Regions from separate parts of the Homo sapiens genome. Here region 2 is linked to region 1. Evidence: promoter capture Hi-C in human tissues and cell types (Jung and others, 2019). All regions are on one chromosome and are shown on one strand. The core of a region is centred on a gene start or on the middle of the fragment in contact, and the rest is flanking DNA. Distances in the headings are between cores, read along the strand shown.

The links. Contacts are between HindIII fragments. The study calls those that stand out against the background at their distance.
Region 2: a fragment that was not itself captured here is called in contact with the fragment with the promoter of TMEM11 in region 1 in 3 of the 25 tissues and cell types used here (adrenal gland, dorsolateral prefrontal cortex and stomach).

What each region holds. Positions count from the first base shown.
Region 1 is chr17:21,212,223-21,217,388 of GRCh38, reverse strand. TMEM11 (transmembrane protein 11) reads left to right here and starts at 3,228. Exons shown (of 2, transcript NM_003876.3): 1 at 3,228-3,298. The coding sequence starts at 3,237. TMEM11-DT (TMEM11 divergent transcript) reads right to left here and starts at 3,064. Exons shown (of 2, transcript NR_184102.1): 1 at 2,939-3,064. RefSeq lists enhancers at 2,247-2,456, 3,227-3,326 and silencers at 2,617-2,886, 3,007-3,146. The HindIII fragment of the contact is 15,648 bases long and covers 1-4,451 here.
Region 2 is chr17:21,454,347-21,459,867 of GRCh38, reverse strand. LOC124903951 (a long non-coding RNA gene) reads right to left here and starts at 2,673. Exons shown (of 2, transcript XR_007065664.1): 1 at 2,168-2,673; 2 at 876-1,015. RefSeq lists a silencer at 2,754-2,833. The HindIII fragment of the contact is 8,684 bases long and covers 1-5,521 here.

The DNA of each region.
Region 1 (5,166 bases), core at 1,979-4,478:
TACTCCTCTCTGAAAATATTTACTTAAGTTGTTTATCCCATTGGAATGTAAAGCCCGTTAAGACCCAGGAACAGTGTTTGTCTTACTAAACACCGTATCTCTGTGCCCAAGAGTACCTGCAGAGTATGCCTTCAACGATTTAAGAATGAATGAATGAAAAGTGTAGTAAGAGAAGTAGCAGATTACTTTGAGCACCAGCGAGGACATGCCTTTCCACTGGCTGCCTTCATACAGCAGGACAGAGGGCTCACGGGAGTCTCCACCGCAGGACAGCCCCCAGGAACTAATTCCCACCACTCAGGCTGTGCCCTCCAAAGGTGCTCAGCTAATACATACTGAGTCAATCAGGCTGCCTATGAACCTTCCAGACAACCTCCGTGCATTAACAGTAATCAGGAGGAAACACCGTGAGGATCTTAGACCAAGTTGGCAGATTAGAAGCAGACGGTCATTCAGAAGTTAAGGGGAGAGTAAAAAGCTGGAGAAATGGGATGTTCATTAGGGCCACAGTTGTTTCAGCATTTACATTTACTCTATGCACTAGACCTACCTCCAGTGCTTCTGGAGAGGCACAATGGCAGAGTGTAATCTCTGTAACTGGACAGTCTGGGCTCAAATCCTAGCACTTTCCTGGCTGGCAGTGTGAGCAAGTCACTCAGGTCGTCTGTAAGTTGATTTCCTCATTTACAAAATGAGATTGTTGATTAAAAAAAAAAGTGATACTATTATTAAGACAGAGTCTTGCTCTGTCATCCATTCTGGAGTGCAGTCGTGCGATCTCAGCTCACTGTAACCTCCACCTCCCGGGTTCAAATGATTCTCATGCCTCAGCCTCCCGAGTAGCTGGGATTACAGGCGTGTGCCACGATGCCCGGCTAATTTTTGTATTTTTAGTACAGACGAGGTGTCACCATGCTGGCCAGGCCGGTCTTGAACTCCTGACCTCAGGTGATCCACCCGCCTTGGCCTCCCAAAGTGCTGGGATTACAGGCGTGAGCTAACGCACCTGGCCAACAGTATCACTTTTATACAGTTGTTGTGAAAATCAAGATGTAGATCACTTAAAATATAAAACAGCACTTGGCCTCCATACACGTATCACCTCATGAAATACCGCAATCCTCTGAGGGGAGATACTATCATCCCATGATACAAACCAGGCAGCTGAGAAACAGAAGTTACACAAGCAGCCCCTGAGCCAGAAGTGCGTTCTAGAATCCCTAGTATACCCTCTGAATCACCACACTGATACAAAGAAAAGACAGCCATATCCGCAGTGTCATACCATGGAACTGTTAAGAGGTCTCCAGCATGAACTACGCTGACACTTGGAGGCAGGGCTGTATGACTCAACAGGAAGGCCAGGTACTTTTTAGAGACCAGACAGGTACAAGGTCTTGAAGGACAAAAGTTGGCTGGGAGAGCTGGGCACCGTGGCTCATGCCTGTAAATCCCAGCACTTTGGGAGGCTGAGGGGGATGGATCATGAGGTCAGGAGTTGGACACCAGCCTGACCAACATGGTGAAACCCCGTCTCTACTAAAAATACAAAAATTAGCTGGGTGTGGTGGCACCACCTGTAATCCCAGGTACTCAGGAGGCTGAGGTAGGAGAATTGCTTGAACCTGGGAGGCGGAGGTTGCAGTGAGCCAAGATCGCACCACTGCACTCAAGCCTGGGCGACAGAGCAAGACTCTGTCTCAAAAAAAAAAAAAAAAGTTGGCTGGGAGGTAAAAGCATTTTAGGTAAAGCATAGAACATCTACGTATCTGCAAACCCTCTGAATTTACTAGCCTGGCAAGTTCCAGACGGGAAAGGTAGGCAGTTGAATTTGGAGAGCTAGGCAACTTCCAAACTAAGGAGGGGCTTCTTGATTGTGCTAAGGAATTTGAATCACACACTGTAGGTGATGAGGGACGGTGAGAGGATTGCAAGCAGCTAAAACTGTGGTAGAATGTCAGCTGGAAGGAAATCGAAAGGAATCCTCAACAAGGAGAGGGTCGCCTTTCCGTCTGCTGGCCCTCCTGCTGTGGCCTGCGGCGGGGTGGGAAGGGGGGTTCCACTACACAGAAGTGTGACGCGCAGGGCTGGGCTTCTTCTAGGCTGAATTCGGGACAGATTTTCGCATTTGTTTTGCTCAAGTATTTATGGGACCAATTAATATGTTTAGCAACGTTGTCTGTGGGAGCAGTAGAGGAACTGAGAAGTTCACAAACTGTAAGAGATCCTCCAAAGAGTCCACAGGTCTGAGGCAGCAGCACCTGGGAATCTCTGGGCTCCAGTTAGTCCTTCCTGACTTTGACTCGTTACAGCAGTGTCCAGACAGGGATATGTCGGGTCCTGTGGCAGGGTTCCCGTCAGGTGGGATGGTTTAGCCCCGCATCTGCCTTCAAAGATCCCGAGATTATGCCGTCGCAGCGGCCAGGGCAGGAGTGGGTGCGTGGCAGGGACTGAGTCTAAGAGGCCTGGAGGCCCTGTCTAAAACAGAGCTGTCGCTGGGCCCTCTCGCCTTCAAGCAGTTATCATACAGCTATTCCCCTTTCTTGTTTTCAGACCCTCTCCTCTAACAGCCTGCACCTGCAAGCAGGGACCTCCGTGGCAGCAGGGACAGCGTGTCTGTCTCGGCCTCCAAAGTACCCCGGAGTCTAAGAGAACTGGGGGAGGATGGTGCGGGAGCAGCGCCCGCCTCCAAGGAGGGCCCGGGCGGCGCCTCCCGCCCCTCGGTGACCTTATGGGCCAAGGCTGTGAAGGGCAGGCGTGGCGACGCGGAGGGGCCCGGCGCTAGTAGCCCGCAGACAGCGCGGCGGCCCCCAGCGGGAGAGGCAGCCTGGCGGCCAGGACAGCGCGGCCGGGCGCCTCCGCGCAGTGCTCTGGGAGTTGTAGGCACTTGCCTCTCCTCTCTCCTTCAGCTACTGGCTCTCGAAACTCAAGGACCTACCGGTGGGTGGGCGCCTGTGACTCCCAGGCTGCGAACGCCGGGAACTCAGTTTCTTCAGAAATGCTCGAACCAGGACGGCTCCTGGAGTCCTCGCGCCCTCGCAGAAGGACTACGGGCCCCGGCGACCCCGGGGGCGGGGCTTCCGGCGCGCTGCCTTGTGGGCACGGTAGTTCCGCCGGGTCTGGCTTCCGCCTGCCGAGCGGCCCCGGACCGCAGGCCGGACTACACTTCCCGTCGGCCCGCCTGCTCTCCCGATGCCGCCTTGGCGCGAGACGTTGGCAAGCAGAGTGTCTCCAAGATGGCCGCTTGGGGAAGGAGGCGTCTTGGCCCGGGCAGCAGTGGCGGCAGCGCCCGAGAGAGGTGAGATCCAAGGGCTTGTTGCCCCCAGTGCAGGCGGCTCAGCGGCCGGAGAGCCCAGCGCGGCCTCCGAGGGCTGCAGCAGCCTTCCTTCCCTGGTTTCCCCGCGCTCCCCCTACCCTCGCCGGGCATACTGGGTTCCAGTTCCGGAGGATCCGGGATCCGGGTGGGAGCGAGGTCGAAGGCCTCGGCGGAGAGCTTAGGGGAAGGGGCGTTAGCCGGGCTGAGTAAGGTAGGCAGCGGCCATGCGGGGCGGGGCCCGAGGCCGGGCCGTGCTGAAAGGAACTGGCGCCCAGCGCAGGCCTCAGGGACCCGCCTAGCTGCCCGCGGGCCGATCGGCTGCTGAAGCACCCTTCCCGCCTGGGCACGCGCGTGGCCATCTCGGCCGCGGCCCCAGACGTGTAGAGGAAGGCAGGGCCCCCGGAGAGAGAAAGAAGGGGAAGCCTTCACAGAGCAGGCCGGCCGCGGCAGGGGTAGTTTGATCTGCACGTTTACTAGGGAGCTTTAGCTCCCGCCAGATGTGTCTCTTCCGAGCCCAGAGCCGGCCACTTCCTCGAGGGAAGATTCTGAAGACTTTTGGATGGTTCTGTGCAAGCGCTCCTGCCGTAGAAGTCCTTTAAAGTGACCTTTCCTAATGAATGGTGTGTGGGCAGGGAGCTAGGAGCGTGTTTCTTCCAACAGGGACCTCCATTTGAATAACTGATTTCTAGAAGATGAGATTGGAGTAGTTTCCGTGTTTCATGTTCAAGTTGCAGTTTTTGCATCTGGGAAGCAGTTTCAGCTAGTGGAAACCACTAGAAGCTGTTCAGCCACTAGAAATTTGGGAGAAGATGTATTGGTGGAGCCACCTGGATTAACTGTCCGCTAAAGCTTGATTGTTATAGCAGCGGTCAGCAAAAAAGGAAAAGTTTTTGTTTTGCTGGTTCTCCCCCTCCCCGTCTTTTTGGTGAGGATTGTCTAACAGAAAAGTTATCTTCCTCTCAACTACTCTGCATTATTCCTTTTCTGTGACTGATTCCATCCCGTGTTCATTGCTATTGCTTGCAGATGGCTTTCCCAGCTGGGAAGATTCTTCCTGTTTGGCAGTTGTGATAGAATCCTTTAGCTTGCTTGCACTTTATTCTTTAGCCCAGTTATCCAGCGTTGCCCATTCTGCATTTCCTCTTCCTTGGAAAAGCAGTGGTAAACACACTTTTGTTTTTCTAACTCCCGCCTGGTATTAGATTGGACCATTTAAATAAGTTACCTCAATGGTTTTCAGATGCTCTTAAAAACTAGCAAACATTTTCAAGATATTCAATGCAAACAGTAATACGAAATAACCTGTTTAGAAAACAAAGTATTAGAAACATACGCCCTCTTGTTGGACTAAAAGCATCTGAAAAGAGCCGAATAGGGATGCCTCAGGCAGGGAACAGGAGCCTTGCCAGCACAGGTTAAGCTTTTATTGATCTAAGAAAATAGATGCTGAGAATTGTTTTTGTTTTGGCTTGAGACAACTGTTTATTCAAAATGGATCTGCAAATTAGCAGTGCATAGGCTGGATCCAGTCCTTGACTGTTGAACCTCAACAGTTTTTAAGAGAATTTAAATTAGTTGCCAGCAGATTTCATATAAAACGCTCCCTGAAAAGCTGGGTAGTGGCTGACTCTTTTTGGTCGGGACAAGTGCTTGGTTCCAGTTCTTGGTTCCTCACCTGACAGCTTGACTCAAATCACCTGACAGCTTGACTCAAATCACCTGTCAGCTTGACTCAATGCATTTGCCTGCTTGGTCTCTGTAGGTGTTCAGGTTGCACCTTTGGCCTGGAACTGAAGGCTCTACTCACACACGCAGATGTTGTGTGTCAGCAGGAATGTGGCATTTGGTTT
Region 2 (5,521 bases), core at 3,007-5,506, 240 kb before region 1:
TGGGGCCATGGTGAGGAGGCTCTGCAGTCTTCCAGGACGACTGGACCATGGATAGGAAATACCCAAGACATGGATTCTCTGGGGACATGGGCGATTCCAAAAGCACCGAGGAGTGTGCCCCTAGAGAAGCAGTCCATTGGGTCCATAGTAAAATCTCATAGCATAACCAACAGTGGAGACCAGAGACTAAAAATCTGTAACATCCTTGGAGTCCATGGACCTCGAAGCCAAACACAACAGCCCCACGAGCATCTGCCATCCAGGCATGGAGAGCTAGGGGTGAGCTTCTTAGAGTAAAGGAGGCTTCTTCCCTGTTCAGATGTGTGAACGGTTGGGTTTACAGATAATGGAGGTGTCTGTGTATGTTGTCATGAAAATATAAGGCAAGTGGCACCAAATGTGATTTAGCGGTCCCAGAAATTCAGTGCTGCGTGCTTTCTACATGACATTAATTTTAATTATATGTACACAGGAGAAAATTTAAAATTGAAATGTCTTATCATTGCTAGAAAAACAGAAGTTTTTTCCCTACGAGTTAGAAATCTTGATCTCTGCGTTTTTCTATGGATCGATTCTCAAAGTTTGTGCAAATACAGTCGGTGTTTCTCTCTAAGTGTCTTTGGTTATGAACTAAGGATGTAACCAACTCCTGCTTATTAGGTAAAGGGATGAGGCAAGAGAGATCCAGCAACAGGGTATGGTTATTTTTCAGTCTTTGGCAACATTTTTCTTCGTGATGTCAAAAGTAGTGAACTCCCTGACTAGGGTTTCAGACATGGGCTGTTCTAATCCACCAAACACCAAACGGCTGGGGAAGAAGAGATTTGGACATGGATAACCAGTGTCACCTACAACATGGAATGGAGGGTCGTCAAAATGGTCTGAGTCACTTTAATATGTGGCTGGAGAGATGCGAGAACAACAGAAAGAGCCCTCAGGAGGCATCCCCACCCAAGGTCAGTGAAGCTCAGTGCAGCTGCAGGGTGTGGGGTCATAGGGTGACCAGGTGACCGGGCTGATGGGGAGGAAAAATGCTCTGTTAAGGGTGTTGTCTCTGTCACCTCTTCAAGAAGCAGCACAGTCTCAGGCACATGTTCCCTCCTGCTCCCCGCCACACACACACACAGACCCACTGCAGCTCTTCCAAGATTCTTCCCTCCATTCTGGGACCTCCCCTTCCTCCTGAGCCCCTGTGGCCTCTATCTTACTCCCTTTCCCCAGTTCTTTGTACCTCCCTCCTCTCCCTCACTCATGTCCCCTCCCATGCAAAGCCCCTACTGGTTCCCCCTTCCCCACTTCACCTCCACTCACACTCCATCTTCACCCTCCATTCCAGTCCTTCCCTTCCTCTCCTCACTCTGACTCCCCTGATAAACTCACTTCCCATCCCCTCTGTCCATGTCCCTGCCTCAGTTTACCTCCCTTCCCCTCTCCTCACCTCCCTTGGATGCACCTGACCTCTCCCGCCTCCCTCCCCTTCATTCATGCCCTTCCCTTCTTCGCTCTCCAGTTCCATCTCCTCCAACATGCTCCCCTCCCCCTTTCCTTCAGCCTCTGTTGACCTCTCCACCCTCCCGCAGTCCCCTGCCCTCTCCTGCTAAGGCCATCCCTCCCAGCCATCCCCGCCCTCCCTACGTCATCTCAGTTGGCTCCATGTCCCTCAGCTCCCATCCCCTCCTTCTTCCCTGCCCTGAGAGCCATCCGGGTTTCCTTTCCAGTCTCCCTCTGCTCCTGTGCTTTCTTCCCCTTCCCTCACTTCCCCTGCTCTGTCTTCTCCTCAGTTCCCCGCCCTCCCTCTCTGCACCTGCCCAGTTTCCCCCATCTCCCCTCCATGCTCCCTTCCTCCCCAGCTCCTGAGTTGGACCACCTCAGCTCAGCGCCCTACTTCCTGTGCCTGCCCCTGCCTGCTGCCCACCATCCCTGCACACAGCTCACTCCTCCCTCTGGCCCTCCTGCTGAGCAGGCGGCTCCCCCACTGCCCTGGGCCTGCCCACCTTCCCCAGCCCCCGCAGTCAAGGCTCTCCAACTCCACACCACCGGGGTGAGGGCAGAGAGGCACCCTCTCCAGGGCTGCGCTTCCTCCAGCAGGTACCAGCTCCTCCCCCTCAACTAAGCTCCATGGCCCATCCCTGCCCTGGGGGCGACACCACAGGGACCTTCCGCTCACCTTGCCAGGCTTTTCAGAGGCCTCGGAGCTGTGGTCAGGCAGGCGAATGGGGAGCAAGCCAGGGGTTACAGATCCAGAGCCTAGGGCAGTCCAGGCAGGGGGGGCTGTGGTCCCCTGTGACCACTTCTGTGACCTTGCCACTTGAATCCTCCAGGGCCTGTGTCCTCACCTCCAACGTGAAGATCAGGCTGGGCCATTATTGCAGAGCTGTGCTGAGTGTTGAAGAAGGTGCGTGTCACGCGTTATTATAGGTAGCTGGTGTTTCCTGAGCGTTTGGAAACGACGCTTTGTAAAATACTGTGAACTAACCGCAGAGCTGGGCACAGCATGCTTCATGATCTCATTTTATACTGACGTGTTTAGTCATCGTGCTGTCAAGTATTCTCCAGCCACATCATTTGTTAGTAGTTTGACCTGCATAGGAGGGCACTGTCACCCTCCCTCCTGCTGTGCTGATTTCAGCTGGAGCCGCCAGGCCAGGCCGCCTCACGCGCCCCCTGCTGACTAACCCGGGAACTGCCCGCAGCCTGCTCTGAGCTTTCTGATGTGGGCGGGACCGGGCCGGGCAGGGCCAGGCGCCTGCGGGGAGGGGCGGGGCCCGGCGACTGAGGGGAGGGGCGGGGCCAGGCGCCTGCGGGAGGAGACCTGGTCCAGGATCAAGGAGTCGCTCAGTGCAGGACCGGCCCAGAGTTCACATCCCTGGCTTGATCTACAGGTAAATTTTTTTTGTATACTTTAAGTTCTAGGGTACAGGTGCACAACGTGCAGGTTTGTTACATAGGTATACATGTGCCATGTTGGCTTGCTGCACCCATAAACTCGTCATTTACATTAGGTATTTCTCCTAATGCTTTCCCTCCCCCACTCCCCCACCTCCCCTACTGGCCCTGGTGTGTGATGTTCCCCGCCCTGTGTCCAAGTGTTCTCATTGTTCAGTTCCCACTTATGAGTGAGAACATGCGGTGTTTGGTTTTCTGTCCTTGTGATAGTTTGCTGAGAAAGATGGTTTCCAGTTTAATCCATGTCCCTGCAATGGACATGAATTCATCTTTTTTATGGCTGCATAGTATTCCGTGGTGTATATATGCCACATTTTCTTAATCTACTCTGTTATTGATGGACATTTGGGTTGGTTCCAAGTCTTTGCTATTGTGAATAGTGCCGCAATAAACATATGGACCTACACGTAAACTAACTGGTGTGTGTCAGACATAGATACAGGCCAAGAAGAAAAGTCAAAGTAGGCAGGGGCAGCTCCAGGACAGTGATGACCTGGGTCGCTTCATTCTGTGCCTGGGGAAGAACCAAAGCCACTTGGAGATTAACGCCATGACAAAAACGAGGGACGACGTGTGTGCAGTTGTGGGTTTCATGTTTACTTTCCACGACTCTAGAGGACTTGCCCACCTGTTCATACATAAACCAGTGCCCAGGGCCCCGCTGCCCCGTGAGGGCTCCATCTCCCCCATCACCCCACCCCCTGCTTAGCTCCTGGCCCACCCCAACCATCCCTTAGTTGATGAGTTGGTGAAGCTGCCCCCTTTTTCCTCCCTATACCCTCTCTTCTCTACCCCAGGTCCTGCTGGGCCTCAGTCTTTGGTCTCTCTGCCCCACCTGCCCCAGCACCCCCCGGTCTCTTGGGTCCTCACCTGCATGCTCCCGAGCTCACCTCCAAGTTGATCTGCATTTCACAAGGCTGGCCCCCTGCAGCCCGCCCCCTCACCTGAGGCACCAGGACCATCCACTTCCTCCACTCTCCTCACACCCCCAAAGTGACTCAGGGCTCCCCTGAACAGCTGGGCTGGAGTCCTCCCACCAGCTCCCTCGGTTATACCTGCTCCCGTTCCCTCAGACCCAGCCCCCCAGGTCTCCAGACCCATTCATGGACGTGGCCTCCTAGGCCTCTCAACACTCACCTCCCAGCAACCCCTCAGCCCTGCCCTCCCCAGGCACCAACTTGGGACTCCCACAGCGGCAGAGACACCTATTCCCACTTGGGCTCATGTCACCACAGCTCCCTGGGGATGCTGAGCCTATGAGCCCAATCTTGCTCCATCCCTCCAGTTCCTTTCTCCAATCCAAGTTCTCTCAGACCTGCAGTGTCACCCCTGGAAGCCATCTGGACACCCAAGGCACTGCCTAATGGAGATGGCCATACTCTTCCCTGTAGGGATGGACAAGGGACACCTGCAGTGTGCAGGTCACAATCTGAACCTTTGGAATGGTGTGGCAGGCCGTGCCCTGCCAGGGCCCCCACCAGGGCCCCTGAATGGCTGCTCCCCATCAGTCACAAGGAAGACCCTTGATGATCATCCCCACTGCCTCTGAGATGGGCCCGGAAAGGCATGAGCTTCTCAAGCACCTGGGTCACCATCTGGGGAATGGCAGTCATGATCAAGTCAATCCCTTGTGCCCCAGAGACACTGTAACTCCCCAGTAGCATCCCAGAGGGACTGAGGCCACCCTGGGCAACAGAGCAAGGTTCCATCTCTACAAAAAATAAAAATGTAGCCGGGAGTGGTGGCGCACACCTGTAGTCACAGCTACTCATGAGGCTGAGGCGGGTGGATTACTTGAGGCCAGGAGTTCAAGGCTGCAGTGAGCTGTCATTTCGCTACTTCAGCCTGGGTGACAAATAGGAAGGGGAGGGGGAGGGGAAGAGAGGGAGAGGGGAGGGAAGGGAGAGAGAGAAGGAGAAGAGGGGAGGGGAGGGAGGGAGAAGGAGAGGAGGGGAGGGAGAAGAGGAGGAAGAAGAAGAAAGAAGGAAGAATCCCGGAGGGGAAAGAGCCACCAAGGGTATCCCCACACTCTGTGCAAGCGTCTCTCTGCCTGAAACATACATGTGTGAAACTCACTGTTGGCACAATCAAGATGGAAAATTAGACCTGAGAGCAGCTTCTGTGGTCTTTGAGAGGGACCCAGGTGATGAACAGAAGCAGGGAGGCTCCATGGAAGGGAGAAACCCAAGTAGATGGCCTTCTCTGTGGCTTCCAGCCTGGGGCAAAGGGTGGTCAGTCTCAAGATACCCAGTAGGGGAAGGGCTCATGTGGGAAAAGGGAAATGGAAAATCCTGCCGCCTGCACAGAATGGGGAAATCACCCGAGACTCCAAAGTGTCATTACTGTGATGTCTGTAGCATAACATCCACATCGCTGTAACATCCACAGGGGCCTCCTTAACACCATCAGGCTCTGGAATCGGAGAGCAGAAGAAGCTTCACAGCTGGAGCTGAAGTGGGTCTGAGTACAGACTAATCTCTATTGTGAGGCTTACTATTATCCCTCCTTTAGGGACATGGTCATTTTAAAATATTTTATTTTGAAATAATTATAGAACTTATAGAAAACTGCAACG